Linked DNA regions of Homo sapiens: all the other regions are linked to region 3. Evidence: promoter capture Hi-C in 16 types of primary human blood cells and fetal thymus (Javierre and others, 2016). All regions are on one chromosome and are shown on one strand. The core of a region is centred on a gene start or on the middle of the fragment in contact, and the rest is flanking DNA. Distances in the headings are between cores, read along the strand shown. Region 1 has its middle 8.4 kb from the start of FAM200C. Region 2 has its middle 10 kb from the start of PTTG1. Region 3 holds the start of CCNG1 (cyclin G1). Region 4 overlaps SLU7 (spliceosome associated SLU7).

Region 1 (2,700 bases), core at 2-2,501, 3.0 Mb after region 3:
GTTCTGATGGATTCTTGGATTCTTGGGTCCTCTGGGTTCAATTTTTCCTATACTTATTTTTCCTTTACCCTAATTTTGTCACTTATATTACATCTTATATGTATTTTTCTAAGTTCAAAATGTCAGAGTATAAATCATAAATAAATTGACATGAAATCAATGGAGTAATTCAAGACCATCAAAAAATTCCCCATGGGAATCTAACTTAGCACACTTTTTCTGGATGATAATTTGGCAAAATATTTTTTAATTTAAATAAATTTTCATTTCTATTTTTAAACATTAATATTTTATCAAAGTACTACATGCTCAAGGCTGGGAAAAAATGATATAGAGAGTCCTATAAGGAAAAGCCACAATCCCCTTCCTGCCCAATTACCCATTTCTTCTGTAATTTCTTGTGGTTCCACCCACATCTCTTAAGTAGTATGTTCATACCATGACATATAGCAGTTGAATCAGCTTTAAAAGTTATATATTGACTCCCCTAGATAATATGTAAGGATTGAATTTATAAAATATCCATCTCCTACTACTCTCAATTTTTTATTATTATTACACTAATGTTAGTCTCTTTGTTGGTTATTTATAGCCCTTTGATTAAGAATTTTTCCTCTATAAATTTATCATGTGGAAAGAATCAGGAATGTCCAAAAGTTTTACTTATAAGGTGGCTAATCAGAACACTTTTATAATACTGAAAAATAAAAAATAAACCTGAAGGGAAATGGAACCTGACTACCAAATTTAGATGCCACATTAGTACGCAAATCAAAGTTTATATTTTATCAGTAAGTATAAATACACACCTTTTTTCACTGAAAAATGTAGTAACAGAATATAGGTCCTAATTTTCCTATTACAATCTAACATCAAAGACAGAAAAATTTCCAAAGCTAATATGGAAATCTAGATGTGTAGGCCAGGTGCGGTGGCTCATGCCTGTAATCCCAGCACTTTGGGAGGCCAAGGTGGGCGGATCACTAGGTCAGGAGTTCGAAATCAGCCTGGCTAAAATGGTGAAACCCCACCTCTACTAAAAATACAAAAATTAGCCAGGCATGGTGACATGCGCCTATAATCCCAGCTACTCAGGAGGCTGAGACGGAAGAATTGCTTGAACCCAGGAGACACAGGTTGCAGTGAGCTGAGATTGTGCCACTGCACCCCAGCCTAGGTGACAGAGTGAGACTCCATCTCAAAAAAAAAAAAAAAATCTAGATGTGTGTATATAAAGTTTAATCTGTATGCAATTCTAAAGTTAGGAAGGAGGTAGGAATAGGGACATGGGCATGTATGAAACCTAGGATTTAATAGTATGATAGAAGGACCAGGATTAAATGACCTTTGATAGCCAGTCTTTCATTAGGTCTTAGACTAAATTAGTTATTGCTGCTCTGAAACAAAAACTCAAAGGACATTTTTAAGGAAATGGCTAACTAGGATTTTTATTCATTTTCAAATTCTACAACAATTTTATTTTCTCCTGATCAAATGAAAGAGCTGCAGTGTTTGCTAAAATGAAGGAATTTCAATTTTTTTTAGTTTAAAAATGTCCCACAGTGGTACATATATTGGAATTTTTAGTCATGTGTTGGTTTCTTTTTTCCCAAAGAAGAGATAATTACTTTTCTTATGTTTTATTTTAGAGTCATTGATAAATTTTGAAAAGGAGTAAAATAGAATAAAAACATAATCTTCATGACCAGCAGATGTCACTCTCTGTATAGGTTTGAATGAGAAAGCAACTTTACTCACATTACAGATTTTGCCAAATAGCTGATTTTAAACATCTCTAGAAAAGGTACTAGTGGCTCAAATTTAAAATTCCTTACCTGAGCCTCTGTGGACTGAAAACTGGCAGGCAGAACTCTGTTGGAGCCGGTAACCATGAGACTGCAAGAAATCACTGGGAAACCCAGGTGGGAAAGAAAATATCAATGACTTTTTCTGTAATACAAGCGTGTGCATTTTTGACATCCTCACTGTTTGTCTAAGCCACCAAAAACTGCTGAAAGTTAGTAAATAATAGGTCAGCATTTTCAGGCATGAGCCAATGGGAAGCAAAACCAAATAGACTTACACTTTTTTTTTTTTTTTTTTTTTTTTTGAAGCAGAGTCTTGCTCTGTCGCCCAGGCCGGAGTTCAGTGGCGCCGTCTTGGCTCGCTGCAAGCTCCGCCTCCTGGGTTCATGCCATTCTCCTGCCTCAGCCTCCTGAGTAGCTGGGACTACAGGCACCCGCCACCACGCCCAGCTAATTTTTTTGTATTTTTAGTAGAGAGGGGGTTTCACCATGTTAGCCAGGATGGTCTCGATCTGACCTCGTGATCCACCCGCCTCGACCTCCCAAAGTGCTGGGGTTACAGGCATGTGCCCCCGCACCCGGCTAACTTATACTTTTAAAGAGTGAACTTGATGATACTTGAATTATATCTCAATTTTTTTTTTTTTTTTTTTTTTGAGACGGAGTTTCATTCTGTCACCCAGGCTGGAGTGCAGTGGTGTGATCGTGATCTCGGCTCACTGCAACCTCCACTCCCGGGTTCAAGAGATTCTCCTGTCTCAGCCTCCCAAGTAGCTGGGATTACAGATGCCCACCACTGCGTCCAGCTAATTTTTGTATTTTTAGTAGAGATAGGGTTTCACCATATTGGCCAGGCTGGTCTCAAACTCCTAACCTCAAGTGATCCACCTGCCTT
Region 2 (2,868 bases), core at 294-2,793, 3.0 Mb after region 3:
GGCCTCTCACCCCCAGACACACACCAGCTGAGTTGCAGGAGAAATAGGTAAGCCTATGCTGGTGCCACCAACAGAACCAAGACTGGTGAGAGAGAGGGCTCTTGAGAGAGCATTCTGGGAGTATTTATTGTCCTTTTCAGCCTTCTCACTGCACTGCGGGGAGGAGAGGATCATCGGCATGTAGAGACTCACTGCAACTTAAAGATTGGCACCTGCTCCTGGTCCAGAGATTTCTCACGGTGGGGACCTGCTGGAGTACCCAGGCCTGCAGGGAAACCTTCACCCCATCCTGGTTCTGCAGCCCTCAAAGGGGATGGAAAAGATCCCAGTGGTTAATCATGGAAGGGCAGAGGCCTTGGACAGCCCCTGGACCAAGGAATAGAAGGGCCCACCTGGGAAAGGTGTGGGAAGAGAGGCAGGCTGCCATTCTCAGGAGGGACAGGGTTTTCAGCCGTGGAGAAGAGGGTGATTCTCTACACAAGGACCTCCCCATGAGCAGAGGCCACCAGCATCGTGCAGAGCACAACAGCCAGAACGAAGCCAGCACACTTCCCATAACCAACAAGTGGCCTGTCACACGAGCAGACTCTTTTCTCCCTCCAGCCGTCCTCCCAGGCTTGGGGCTGGACTAAGCCCCTATGAGGGTCATAACACCGGAAGGGGAGAAGGGACATGTGTGGTGAGCAGAGCATACACATGGGCTTTTGCCAAGCCCTCGCCTGTACTAGGGGAGAGGGAGAAGAGCCTGAAATAGGTGTGAACCTCAAGTTTTAAAATAAGCAAAGTTTAATTTTAACCAAAAGTAACTGGAAAGCTATGAAATCTGTCTGAATGCTGCTCAGCATCACCCACCACCCAGAAAGGAGGAAAGGAGAACAGGTCAACAAAACACAGTTGGTGGCAATAAAAAAAGAAAGAAACTCAGTTTATGTTTCCCCAGCAGAGCTGGAGCTTCTCAGTAAACAGGTTATACCTGGGCTTGGTGGGGCACAGACAGACAGGTGACCAGGAACTGTCTAGGGTAGGAGAAGCTGACCTCCTAGACCTGTGCCTGCCCCCACCACTCTCTCTCTGGAAACCTTGAAGTCAGGCTCCCTGGCCCTGATACCGTGTGATGCTAACAGTGGGTACAGTGCAGTCGCTGGGTCTCTAGAAACCTGGATCCCCAGGGACTGATGACATCTTTACTCATTTCAGCAAGTCCCTGAAGCACCTGCCACATGCCAGGCAGAGAATACACCAGTGCACAGGACACACCTCATCCTGCTCCCAGTAGAGCGGAGGAGAGGACCAGACACAGCCGAGCATGGTAAGTGCAAAGGCTTCTGGTAAGAAAAGCATCTCATTGGAGTACTAGAGATGGACAGGTTTGGCCAGGTGAATCAGGACAGGAAATTACACCCCCAAGGAGCCACCACAAGGCCGTGTGAGCCACACTGAGCAACTCAGACTTCATCCTGGTGGCAGAGGGACATCATTCCAAAGTAAATGAAGTGGGGAATGAGTGCTTGATGAGCATGGGTTTATTTTTGGGGGTGATGAAAGTGTTCTGAAATTAGACAGTGGTGATAGTTGCATATACTCTGAACTAAAAGCCACTGAATTGTACATTTTTAAATGAATTTTCTTATGTGAATGTTACCTCAAAAAAAAAAAAAAGGCCGGGCATGGTGGCTCACGCCTGTAATCCAAGCACTTTGGGAGGCCAAGGCCGGCAGATCACGAGGTCAGGAGATCGAGACCATCCTGGCGAACACGGTGAAACCCTGTCTCTACTAAAAATACAAAAAAAAAAAAAATTAGCTGGGCGTGGTGGTGGGCGCCTGTAGTCCCAGCTACTCGGGAGGCTGAGGCAGGAGAATGGCATGAACCCGGGAGGTGGAGTTTGCAGTGAGCCAAGATTGCACCACTGCACTCCAGCCTGGGCGACAGAGCAAGACTCCGTCTCAAAAAAGAAAAAAAATGAAAGGAATATCTAGAAGGAACTTTCAATTCCAATCAAGATGGAGTAACAGGGACCAGATTTACTCTCCTGCCTGAAACTAAAAAACAAGACAAAATATATGAAATGAGGGCTGCCCAAAGAGTGAACATCAGGCGACAGAGAACAGCGATGCCTGAGGAATGTGAAATAAGTGAGGTGAGGCCGATGACTATCCTTACTGGCTACTTTTGAGTTTCCAGGCCTCAGAGTGGGGAAGAAAGGGAGGCAGGCAGAGCCCAGTGAATTTCCTGAGTTGAAGAGACAGAGCAGAGTCAGGCCAAGGCAGGCCAAGTTTGCAGAGCAGAGCACTGGAGAGGAGAGAGCTGCACAGAGAGAACCCTGGAAATTTGCAGAGGGTCTCCCTGTAGTATTCAGAAGAGCACTGATCCATATAGCTGAAAAGATCAGAGGGAAGAATTCCTGAAGCCCACACAGGGCTGGGAATAGTGTCTGCTCCCACCAGCTAGACAGGAAAACCTCATAATTCAGGGGGCAGCAGAGTCCTAAGCATCTCACACTTCAGTAGTAGGGGGAAATGAGCCCTGGGCTAAATGCTGCTCTGGTGATGCCTAACATTAAAGGCAAGTCTCAAATGAATCAAATTGCTTCTAGGTACCTTACCCATACTCTAGAACAAAGTTTAAGAATATTAATAGAAATGTAAAAATACCCAGCATGAAAAAAGGTAAAATCCATGGCTGGCATGGAAAGTAGAAAAATACAACTTGTAATAAGAAAGAAGAAATGGTAGCAAGATAATGGCATTCCTGACTGTTAGCTCCTACTATAAGAAGGTACAGTATCCTGAGAGGCAGGCTCAGAGGTAGTGTAGAGAAATGCAGAAGGTTTACAGAGTTGTAAAGGTATGAATAAAGTCTGTCTTA
Region 3 (2,753 bases), core at 150-2,649:
AGTACAGTGGCACGATCTTGGCTCACTGCAACCTCCGACTCCCTGGTTCAAGCGATTCTCCTGCCTCAGCCTCCCGAGGAGCTGGGATTACAGGCATGCGCCACCGCGCCCAGCTAATTTTTATATTTTTAGTAGAGACGGGGTTTCACCATGTTGGCCAGGATGGTCTCGGTCTCCTGGCCTTGTGATCTGCCCGCCTCGGCCTTCCAAAGTGCCGGGATTACAGGCGTGAGCCACCGCGCCCGGTCGGAACCATGCTTTTTAGAAAAATAAAATGCAAATCTTCAAGAAATACTTGTTCAAGTTATTCACTGTCAATAGATAACCACGAATAAACACCGTAAGACAGGATACCGAAAGTGAAAAGCAGATGGTAGTTAAGTATTCTGCCACATATTAACAAAATGAACTGTTCAAGTTACTTAATTGTACTTAGTTCCACATTGATAAAGTAGGGATAAGGTTTATGACCTACCTCACAGATTTGTGAGTTAAAATGAAATCACGTAAAGAGCTTAGCACATACAGTAGACGCTTAAAAAACACTGAACAATAATAATGAGCTTGAGCTTCTTTCTAGATTTATAAAATGAGGGTAACAATATCTGTCGCTGAATGTGAAGACTGAACAAGATGATTCACCACTTAAAGAGTATAGCACAGTGCTTGGCACACAATACTCAATATTACTTAACTTTTATTGTTGTTAGGAAAGGAAACTTAAAAGGTGACATTAGGAGCACGTATTGGGGCGGGGGGGTGCGGTGGGTTGTTGCTAACCTAGTCTGAAAGATGAACCTGGGAATTCCATTGATTTAAGTGTGCATAACACAACCATGTCCCGGGCACAAGCTAAGCCCTGGATACATGGAAGGTCCCTCCCACACCAACTAAAGACAGGAAGGCAGGAGGTCTTCAGAGCTAGTCATGTGAGGAACCTCTAACTGCAGGGGTTCCATTCTTCCTCCCCAGGCTAGTCCCTGGGACTGGGTCGGCAGACACGAAAGGCACCTCAGGAGGCCGGATCCGGCTCCGCCCCTCCAGCCTCGGACTAGCCTGGGCTTGTGCTCACAACAGCGGTAGAGTTTAGTGTGGAAAAGGGCGCGGGCCAGACCTACTCCTCGCCCCGCGCCCCCAACCCAGCTCCCCACCCGCACCTGGCGGTCAACTCCCGCGCAGTCCCACTCACCTTGACAGAGACTGCAGCTCCTCAGCGGTAACCACCCTCCCCGGGCCTGCTCACCTCACCCCACGATATCAGATCCGAGAGGCCTACGAGGAGAGGGGACTCGTAGGCAAGAGGAGAGAGGCCCGGGGAGGGGGACTGTCCTGGGTGGAGGCCTCGGCAGCGCCGCCGAGACAACTCGGCCCTGATCAGGGTCAGCTCGGAGCCGAAGGGGCCGCGCCTGCCCTAACGAGGAATATATTGGAGGGCGGGGCTTTCTCGCGAGAAGGGGGCATTTTCGCCGCTGATTGGTGTAATTCTTTTGATGGATGGCCTCCGCGATCCGTAAACGGCTGGGCCGTGGAGTGAGAAGTCCGGCCAATCGGCTCACACTTCCCGTTATCTGGCCTCAAATTCCCCGGCCCCCTTCCACGCCCCTACCTCTAAGCGTCTCTCATTGGAGAATTTAACAAAGTGTCTTCATTCAGTAGGGGGCCAAACTAAATACTCGGTGCAGCAACCCTCGCCTGGGTCAGGTCAATCGGCTGCCAGCCGGATTGGCCGGCGTATCATTCCAGAATGTACTGTTTGTTCTGTGGGGTTTAGGAGTTCTACAGTGGTTCTGCCCCATCTTTCTAAAAATACAGTGAGTAGTTAAAAAAAAAAAAGTCAACCTTTGATTTTTAATTACAGATAAAGAGGTGGTGGAATTTATATGGTTTGGTGGTTTATCAACTTCCAGAGTGCTCTCTTCGTGAACTTTGGAAGTCAGTTGATTCTTGCCTTAGTTTGCTTTTTATACAATTTATCAAATAATGGAGTTGGACTGTGTAATTTCTTGACCCTCTACCAATTTTCTGAATTTGCTTTTAAAGCAAATTTAAAGAGAAAAGTTGGTACAATTTTTCAGTTGCTTAAAATGAAAGGTATGTGGCAGACTGTTAACAGGAATAATTGTGGTGAGTGTGAATCTCAGTCTACAGACCCGAGTGTAAAGCAGTATTACTCTTTGTATTTACCATAATGAATTTAATCTCTGTGAGCCTCTCCTATGCCAGATTAGTGGGAAAATAATTAGCCTGAACTCTTCTTAGACTCTCCTCACTCTCACTCTCCCAGATCATCACAAGTGAGAAAAGTCCATTTGTAAAAGGGCCTGAAAAAGGGTGCACAAGGAGTCATTTCTAAACTCTTATGAATTACACAGTAGTTGGATGTCTCTGTTCTCATGGCCCCAGTTCGGTCTCTCTTACTTTGAAAAAGTGAAAATCTGAAAGATTTGCCGTCACTCTGCTATTTGCCCTGCCGTGTACTTACCCAAGGCAATGCCACAGAACAAAACTCTGGAAAGGGGGAAAAGGGGTGGGGAGGAAGGGGAAGGAAAAACAGGAGAAAACATCAATACCTCACAATAATACCTTAGCCACATAATCAGGTCAGTTTAAGAAACTGGGGCTCAAATGGGGAAGAGGCCTTTGTTCCTTTTGAAAATAAAAGCTTACCTAGTGAATATAAATTGGCAATTTATAACCTTTAACAAGTGATTTTATTTAAAAATACTTTTTGCTGTAATGTGTGAGTTTATAAA
Region 4 (2,700 bases), core at 92-2,591, 3.0 Mb after region 3:
GGCTACCTTTATAATTGTAATATTGAGTAAAGGAAATAGTGTGCTAGCCATACTTGCCAGCAGTTTCTTCTTATTTGATTCTTATATTGGTCCTTTACTCCCTGACTTAGGTAGCAAAAGATATTGGAAGCATGAAGACAGATTAGTGTCCAAAGCTTTTGGTTTTGTGAGGTTAGAAATGTATGGCCCCAAGCTATAGCTTGCCCATGAACCTATTTTATAGTTGCCTCCCATAGCATTTGGGAGTAGTAGAAAGGGAATGGATAATTTGTTTCAGAAAATTTTATTTTATTTTAACCCAACTTCAGTTTTTACTGTTATGATTTGACCTATTCACCCTTATTCCTTTGAAGTCATAGTCACACTGCCTTTTTTTTTTAATTAGAGGTATCATTTTAAAATTATAAGATTTCATATAAAAATCTGGATTTCATCTTTTCTTGAATATTGTAATATATGGTAACCCCACGCCTGCCTGGTAAGAGTCAGTCATCTAGAGTTCTGTGGCAACTGCTTGTTTTTGTCAGGGCTTGCTCCCTGCAATTTACTACTGATGCCATTTGGCTCAGTTTACATTAATGCCTGGTTCAAACACTGTGTAACTCCTGCTCTTTATAGAGTAATAGGTCTAGGGCTACAAGGAATCCCAAAGAGATAGGTTTGTTCAGTGACCTTTTCTGAAATAAATTAATTTAAAGTTATTCATTTTAAATATATAAAAATTTAGGTGGTGACTTGAATGTTGTAAGTAAAATTTAAATGTTTACTTTTTCTTTCTTTCTTTCTTTTTTTTTTTTTTAAAGGCAAAACGAACATTGAAAGCCCAGAAACTCCAAGAGGAATTAGCCTCAGGAAAATTAGTGGAACAGGCTGTAAGTAATGAAAATGATCAATAAAAAGGTTTTATTTCTTTTAAACAAAGAAATGAAAATTGAAACAAGAATTCATTTTATAGCTCTTCAGTTAGGAAGAGAGAAATGCTATTGGGGGAAAAATAAAACTGATACTTTGTATACAGTTCATAGTAATATAAATTGATGCAGTCAGTTTGGGAACAATATTGCCACTATTTATATTTAGACACACACAAACATTTACTTTTTCAAGTTAAATTATTAAAGCTATCCATCCTAAAGAATTTTCTAGAGTTTAGAAAAATCATGATGCATAAAGATAGTACAGCATTTTTCACAATAGTAAAGAAATTGGAATAGCTTAAATGTCCAGGAACAGGGAATTGGTTAAGTGCATCTGCATGGTGTAATGCTGTGTAGTTCTTAAAATGGCATTTCTCAAGACTTCATTAACAACACTGGTTAACACTTGTATTTGAATAATACATGAAAAGATAGTATAATATTATCACACAGAAAAAAAGACCAGAACACTAGTTTTTATTTAATGTAGAATTTATGAATTTTTCTTTCTATTTCTTTAGTATTTTCTGCATTTCCCACAATGAATATGTATTAGTTATATAACTGGGCAAAACATTTTTTATATGAATGAAAGGTCTATTGCAGCCAGTTTTTTTTTCTTTTTTAAAAATCCTTGTCAATAGAGTAAATATATTATGCATATTAGAGTTGTCAAGTTTCTTTTTAACAAATCTAGGCACAAATAAATAGTAAACATTTATAGTTTTTTAGTTTAAATTTCTAAAAGGGACTCTAAACCATGTATAAGTAACAAAGCAAACAGAACTTGAAATAATTACCAAGTAAGCAGTTACCGAGTTACTAAGGTAACCTACCAGGCAAGTTAACATTGTAAGTTACCAGATAGGTGTTTAAAATCCATCTCTGGCCGAGCACAATGGCTCACACCTGTAATCCCAGCACTTTGGGAGGCCGAGGCAGGTGGATCATCTGAGGTCAGGAGTTCGAGACTAGCCTGGCTAACATGGTGAAACCTCATCTTTACTAAAAATACAAAAATTAGCTGGGTGTGGTGGCGAGCACCTGTAGTCCCAGCTACTCGGGAGAATCGCTTGAACCCAGGAGGCAGAGGTTGCAGTGAGCCGAGATCACGTCACTGTGCTCTAGCTTGGATGACAGAGCGAGACTCTATCTCAATCAATCAGTCAATCAGTCAATCAATAACAAAATCCATCTCTGCTCCATGAGACATACATGCTCTTAGAAAAGTGAATTTGCCGGCCGGGCGCGGTGGCTGACGCCTATAATCCGAGCACTTTGGGAGGCCAAGGCGGGTGGATCCCAAGGTCAGGAGATCGAGACCATCCTGGCTAACACGGTGAAACCCCGTCTCTACTAAAAAATACAAAAAATTAGCCAGTCGCGGTGGCGGGCGCCTGTAGTCCCAGCTACTCGGGAGGCTGAGGCAGGAGAATGGGTGAACCCAGGAGGCAGAGCTTGCAGTGAGCCAAGATCATGCCGCTGCACTCCAGCCTGGGCGACAGAGTGAGACTCCGTCTCAAAAAAAAAAAAAAGTGAATTTGCCTCTCTGAGCTGCAGTTTAGTATGTCTGAAATAGAAATGATAACACCTACCCCCAGGAAGCTTATATACATATCACATAGTAAACACTGGGTAATTAGTAGCTATTATTGTTGTGATTATTTTTATTTATTACTAACTTTGGGAAAAGAAAAAGGGCCTGTTTCTTTTGTTCTAATGTATTCTCTGTTGTTTGTTGTAAACGTAATGTAATTTATTTCCCCAGTAAGGATACTTAATG

Evidence for each region. The method cuts DNA at HindIII sites, captures the fragments that hold promoters and counts their contacts. A CHiCAGO score of 5 or more calls a contact.
Region 1: a fragment that was not itself captured here is called in contact with the fragment with the promoter of CCNG1 in region 3 in 6 of 17 cell types (non-activated CD4 T cells, naive CD8 T cells, activated CD4 T cells and 3 more); the score reaches 17.4 in non-activated CD4 T cells.
Region 2: a contact is called between a fragment that was not itself captured here and the fragment with the promoter of CCNG1 in region 3, in 15 of 17 cell types (M0 macrophages, total CD8 T cells, total CD4 T cells and 12 more). The highest score is 28.0, in M0 macrophages.
Region 4: a contact is called between a fragment that was not itself captured here and the fragment with the promoter of CCNG1 in region 3, in 13 of 17 cell types (non-activated CD4 T cells, naive CD4 T cells, total CD4 T cells and 10 more). The highest score is 26.4, in non-activated CD4 T cells.

What each region holds. Positions count from the first base shown.
Region 1 is chr5:160,390,302-160,393,001 of GRCh38, reverse strand. No RefSeq gene overlaps it. Among named protein-coding and RNA genes, the nearest start is that of FAM200C, 8.4 kb to the left of the region's middle. The HindIII fragment of the contact is 4,404 bases long and covers 1-2,700 here.
Region 2 is chr5:160,430,699-160,433,566 of GRCh38, reverse strand. No RefSeq gene overlaps it. Among named protein-coding and RNA genes, the nearest start is that of PTTG1, 10 kb to the right of the region's middle. RefSeq lists an enhancer at 1,048-1,137. The HindIII fragment of the contact is 3,173 bases long and covers 1-2,868 here.
Region 3 is chr5:163,436,241-163,438,993 of GRCh38, reverse strand. CCNG1 (cyclin G1) reads right to left here and starts at 1,399. Exons shown (of 7, transcript NM_004060.4): 1 at 1,190-1,399. It also overlaps a transcript of LOC105377700 not described here. RefSeq lists enhancers at 835-1,034, 726-1,303, 1,745-1,794 and a silencer at 1,475-1,554. The HindIII fragment of the contact is 4,161 bases long and covers 1-2,664 here.
Region 4 is chr5:160,410,623-160,413,322 of GRCh38, reverse strand. It overlaps SLU7 (spliceosome associated SLU7), which reads left to right. Exons shown (of 16, transcript NM_006425.5): 6 at 804-872. Among named protein-coding and RNA genes, the nearest start is that of SLU7, 7.1 kb to the left of the region's middle. The HindIII fragment of the contact is 2,367 bases long and covers 158-2,524 here.